2 separate regions of the Homo sapiens genome follow, and region 2 is linked to region 1. The links are contacts of gene promoters, found by promoter capture Hi-C in human tissues and cell types (Jung and others, 2019). All regions are on one chromosome and are shown on one strand. Each heading gives the region's core, a stretch centred on a gene start or on the middle of the fragment in contact. The rest is flanking DNA. Distances are from core to core; before and after follow the strand shown.

The links. The method cuts DNA at HindIII sites, captures the fragments that hold promoters and counts their contacts. A contact is called where the count stands out against the background at its distance.
Region 2: a contact is called between a fragment that was not itself captured here and the fragment with the promoter of CXCL9 in region 1, in 1 of the 25 tissues and cell types used here (mesenchymal stem cells).

Annotation. Positions count from the first base shown.
Region 1 is chr4:76,005,709-76,008,832 of GRCh38, forward strand. CXCL9 (C-X-C motif chemokine ligand 9) reads right to left here and starts at 1,801. Exons shown (of 4, transcript NM_002416.3): 1 at 1,678-1,801; 2 at 440-566. The coding sequence starts at 1,741. SDAD1-AS1 (SDAD1 antisense RNA 1) reads left to right here. Exons shown (of 3, transcript NR_125906.1): 3 at 1-234. The HindIII fragment of the contact is 7,232 bases long and covers 1-2,512 here.
Region 2 is chr4:76,048,503-76,051,465 of GRCh38, forward strand. It overlaps a transcript of ART3 not described here. Among named protein-coding and RNA genes, the nearest start is that of CXCL11, 14 kb to the left of the region's middle. The HindIII fragment of the contact is 3,429 bases long and covers 1-2,963 here.

The sequences.
Region 1 (3,124 bases), core at 551-3,050:
TAGTGTTAATGAAAAAGCAGATTACAAAACAGTGTATAGTATATGATTTAATTTTTGTGCTTATATACGTGTATGTAAAAACATATCTATGTTATGTGCACACGAAGCAAGTAAGGAAGATTTAGAAAACTGTATACTAAGGGGTTAACAGTATTTGTCACTCAAGGGTAGAATTATGCGTGATTTTTATTTTCTTCTATTGTGTTACCTGCATTAAACATTTTGTACAATAAACATGTGTCATTCTTGGGGCCTAATCTACCAGAAATTCCTTGCATTTTTAAGGAGAAGAAAAGAAAGGAGCTGCCCAAATTTATGGAGGGGGTAACCATCTGATTTTTAAGTGTTTGTATGGGCAAGCACTCCAAGGGTAAAACTCATGCTAAATTTAATGTTCTTGCCAATATGGTGCATGCATGTTAGCTGGGTTGTTACTTACATGATTTCAATTTTCTCGCAGGAAGGGCTTGGGGCAAATTGTTTAAGGTCTTTCAAGGATTGTAGGTGGATAGTCCCTTGGTTGGTGCTGATGCAGGAACAGCGACCCTTTCTCACTACTGGGGTTCCTGAGGGAAAGAAAAAGATAGAACACATCAGTATAGGCCAATGTTTCAGTTTAGGTGATCTATCAAAATGATACACTTGACTGAGTCATGATTATTGCTATCATTTACCGAGTGCCTAAAAATAATCACCACAAACCTTTGAAGGAGGTATCATCTCTATTTTATACATAAGGAAACTAAGGTTCAGAAAGATTAAGAACAAAGTCATACAGCTTTTAGGGAGCAGGGGCAGGGTTTTAGCCCAGATCTCTCTGAGTCCAAAGGCGTTGCTCTTAACTACCACACCGTAAGTCCGTGGGAGAAAAAGAGACTTTCACAATATTTAATAAATGCCTATCACAAGACAAACAGATAACTAATTCATGTATGCTATGCTGATCACAGTTTCTTAAGCAACTCCTAAACCATCTATTATTTATTATCTGACCTTAAGGAATGGAACTGGTGTTGGTGTTGAATAGAAAGCACTCCTTTGTAACCAATCACCACTTTCATCCTCATCCTCTCTCCTCCCCACTGCCTTGCTTTTCAATAGTGTTTTAAATTTTTGAAAACCCCTTAAAATACATTATCTTAATTCTTAAATTCATATATTTACTTGGTACTTATTGTACCATATGCCATACATTGTGTAGCAGTCAGAAAAGGTATAACTACAAAGTTCTATTTTACAGATGATGAGGAAACTGAGGTCTAGAAAGATTAAGTAATTTGTCCAAGGTAACAAAGATAGTTAGTAAATAGATTAGGGACAAATTCTCTGATTATTGGTTGGATCCTTAATTGGTTAGCCACAGATATACTTAGCAAAAAACAGTATCAGGGAGAAGAAAATAATTTAGGAGATAGAGTTCTCATTATTACCCAGTTCAATGAACATTTATTGAACACTTACTAGGAATTCATACACCTAGACTACAAAGACTTGTGTTTGACTTGGCAGATCGAAGTTATGAACTTTGGATAACTGGTCATGTCACTGAGAAGCTTTTATGACTGACCAAATATTACTCTTCAATGCAGGCAGAACATTCACCTTTATCTGGCTAATCAAGATTCTTTTACAGTGAATCACTTCTCTTACTTTACAACCTAACTCAGAACCCCTTACCTTGCACTCCAATCAGAACCAGCAAGATGATGCCCAAGAGGAAAAGAACACCACTTTTCTTCATAGTGATAGAATGGAGTTCCAAGTCACTCCTGTATTGGATTTTGAGCCTGAGAAATTCTTTAGAGAACACATTTTGGGGATCATATTTATTTAGGATATTCATTTCTCTCCTAAACTCTGATTGGCTAGTATCTTTAGCTGAGCTAACTAAATTGACCACAAACTTGATTGTGCTGGGGGAAACCCTAGTCTCAGATCCAAGGGAATTTCTGCATGTTTTTATTTCCATTTCACATAAATGGGTGGTTTATAGTAAGGGATGTGAAACTAGCAACACTGATAGCCTTTGGCACATTCACAGTTGCTCACCTGTGTGAAGAATAGGTTATATAATGAATATACTAATGTTATACAACAAAGGTTGGAGATGTGGTTTCCAGATGGGAAATATTAAAGTCCAGATAAATAATATACTTTTCAAATTCCCTTACTATTTATGGCATATTCTTCTGTATAATAGATGGCTACATTGATATTTTCTTATATTGCCCACTTAACAACTTAAAGCACCTTAATTTCCTCTGGGACCAGGTCATTTTCTACTAGTGGTAAGCTCATTCTGTATCATTCCTGCTACAGTATTATTTTTTAAACTAATAAATTGGTTAGAATAAGGGGTCAGTTGCATGTAAGAGACCCAAATTAACAGTGGCTAAGAAATGCAATAAAAATGAAGATAAATAGCTGGGACCTAATTAAAGAGCTTTTGCACAGCAAAAGGAACAGTCAGCAGAGTAAACAGACAACCCACAGAGTGGGAGAAAATCTTCACAATCTATATACCTGACAAAGGACTAATATCCAGAATCTAGAATGAATTCAAACAAATCATTAAGTAAAAAACAAACAATCCCATTAAAAAGTGGGCTAAGGACATCAATATACAATTCTCAAAAGAAGATACACGAATAGCCAACAAACATATGAAAAAATGCTCATCACTAATGATCAGGGAAATGCAAATCAAAACCACGGTGTGATACCACCTTACACCTGCAAGAATGGCCATAATCAAAAAATCAAAAAACAGCAGATGTTGGTGTGGACTTGGTGATCAGGGAACACTTCTACACTGCTGGTGGGAATGTAAACTAGCACAGCCGCTATGGAAAACAGTGTGGAGATTCCTTAAAGAACTAAAAAGCAGAATTACCATTTTATCCAGCAATCCCACTACTGGGTATCTACCCAGAGGAAAAGAAGTCATTATTTGAAAAATGTACTTGCACATGCATGTTTATAGCAGCACAATTCACAATTGCAAAATCATGGAACCAACCCAAATGCCCATCAATCAATGAGTGAATAAAGAAACTGTGGTTTATATATACACAATCGAATACTACTCAGTCACAAAAAGGAATGAATTAACGGCATTAGCAGT
Region 2 (2,963 bases), core at 172-2,671, 42 kb after region 1:
TGGTTTATTTTGTTTCTCCCCCTGCCCAAGAACCCACAACGGTCCCTGGACCCTGCTGATTGGAATAGTTGCGCTCACCGATGCAGCAGCAGAAACAACCCCTGCCCAAGAACCCGCAACAGTCTCTGGACCCTGCTGATCAGAATAGTTGTGCTCACTGACGCAGCAGCGGAAACACTAGTTTTCCTCCCAGACCACATGGAGGACTGAGGAAGGTCGGATTTAGTGGTCCTTACCAATGCATTCTCGAAAACCTGCACCCTTGCCTGTCTTCCTAGACCACAAGGAGGACCGACCACAAAAAATCGGATTTAGTGGCCCTTATGATGCATTCTCAAAAACCTGTTAGAGTCCTAAGCATTCTCCTGTTAGTATTGGGACTTTACCCCTGTCCTATAAAGATCTTATGCCCCAAAAATGAAGTGGAGGGCCATACCCTGAGGGAGGGAAGGGATCTTCAGGGTTGGAAGAGTGACACCTTTTTCCTCACTTATATGAATAGGAAGGATACAATTTCTGAGGCTCCCCATATCCTAGCTTCAGGAATAGCTTTTGTTAGGCCTGTTAGTCTCAGGAGGGATCCTAAAATTCCAGGTAGTCCCCACTATGACGGGGCTTTGGGCAAAAATCATGTCTTTCTGATTGGTGAGCCTGGGTGCCTAAAGAAGGTAACAGAGTCCTGGAGTTTATACTATAAATCATTCTTATAGGAGAAACTAGAAAAGCACCAGGGACAGGTAGCAATTTTTAGAAGTGGGTCTAACCTCAGAGAAGACAGGCGAGAGGAAGTTTGTCTGGCAGGCATTAGGACCCAGGCGGCAAGGGTCAGGATAGATAGGATAGATGGGTGAGTCTTTCTTGGGCGACATGCTTTTGAGAGTGCCGCTCATGGCCGCAGGGTCAGCCAACATGTTGTCGGGACCTTGGAGCTGCATGGCTTTCCTCTCTGTCGACCCTCGGCTCAGCCCAGAAGTACAGGAAAAGCGGAAGCTGGTTCTAGGCAAACCAACGGTCCCAACTCCAAAGAGTCAGGGGTTGTTAGAGAGCCCTTTCCCAGACAGCCTGACACCCATGTCTTTAGTCCGGCAGCCTCACTAGTCTCTTTTAACTGGCCGACAGGTGCCCGGTATTTAGCCCCCGAAATTTTAAGGAAAAATAGGACAGAATAGCAAGCGAAAGGGGTCTGATGGTACTCACTGCTTGGCGATAGGCGATTGTCTCACCGCTCGGCGATAGGCGATGGTCTTACCGCTCGGCGATAGGCGAAAGTCCCTTCGTGGTTGCCAAGATGTGTCCGGAATTGGTGGGTTCTTGGTCTCGCTGACTTCAAGAATGAAGCCGCGGACCCTCACGGTGAGTGTTACAGCTCTTAAGGTGGCGCGTCTGGAGTTTGTTCCTTCTGATGTTTGGATGTGTTCGGAGTTTGTTCCTTCTGGTGGGTTCGTGGTCTCACTGGCTCAGGAGTGAAGCTGCAGACCTTAGCGGTGAGTGTTACAGCTCTTAAGGCGGCGCGTCTGGAGTTGTTCGTTCCTCCCGGTGGGCTTATGGTCTCACTGGCTCAGGAGTGAAGCTGCAGACTTTCGCGGTGAGTGTTACAGCTCATAAAAGCAGTGTGGACCCAAAGAGTGAGCAGCAGCAAGATTTATTGCAAAGAGTGAAAGAACAAAGCTTCCACAGTGTGGAAGGGGACCTGAGCGGGTTGCCACTGCTGGCTCGGGCAGCCTGCTTTTATTCTCTTATCTGGCCCCACCCACGTCCTGCTAATTGGTAGAGCTGAGTGGTCTGTTTTGACAGGGCGCTGATAGGTGGGTTTACAATCCCTGAGCTAGACACAAAGGTTCTCCACATCCCCACCAGATTAGCTAGATACAGAGTGTCGACACAAAGGTTCTCCAGGGCCCCACCAGAATAGCTAGATACGGAGTGTCAATTGGTGCATTCACAAACCCTGAGCTAGACACAGGGTGCTGATTGGTGTATTTACAAACCTTGAGCTAGATACAGAGGGCCGATTGGTGTATTTGCAATCCCTGAGCTAGACATAAAAGTTCTCCATGTTCCCACCAGACTCAGGAGCCCAGCTGGCTTCACGCAGTGGATCCCGCACCAGGGCTGCAGGTGGAGCTGCCTGCCAGTCCCGGTGCTGTGTGCCCGCACTCCTCAGCCCTTGGGTGGTCGATGGGACTGGGCACCGTGGAGCAGGGGGTGGCACTTGTCGCGGAGGCTCGGGCCACACAGGAGCCCATGGAGGGGGTGGGAGGCTCAGGCATGGCGGGCTGCAGGTCCTGAGCCCTGCCCCGCAGGAAGGCAGCTAAGGCCCGATGAGAAATGGAGCGCAGTGCCAGTGGGCTGGCACTGCTGGGGGACCCAGTACACCCTCCGCAGCTGCTAGCCCGGGTGCTAAGCCCCTCATTGCCTGGGGCCGGCAGGGCCGGCGGGCTGCTCCGAGTGCGGGGCCCGCCAAGCCCACGCCTACCCGGAACTCCAGCTGGCCTGCAAGCCCACGCGCAGCCCTGGTTCCCGCTGGCGCCTGTCCCTCCACACCTCCCTGCAAGCTGAGGGAGCCGGCTCCGGCCTTGGCCAGCCCAGAAAGGGGCTCCCACAGTGCAGCAGTGGGCTGAAGGGCTCCTCAAGTGCCGCCAAAGTGGGAGCCCAGGCAGAGGAGGTGCCGAGAGCAAGCGAGGGCTGTGAGGACTGCCAGCACACTGTCACCTCTCAAAAGTACAGTAGTATAGTACCTGATGCTGTTTTTTAGAGGGATTTAGGCATGCCAATGACTTTAGGGAGCTGCCGGTGGATTTTTTTTTAAGAGTTCTTAGTAGAATACTACTGTGAGTTTCTTATAATATTATTAAAATACCCGTCCCAGAAATGAGACAGATTCTGCAGGCTATATTCAAGGTAGCCATTAGGCACTGGGTAAGGCTCTATTTTTTTCATCAAAACTTGGAGTAAATTGTATA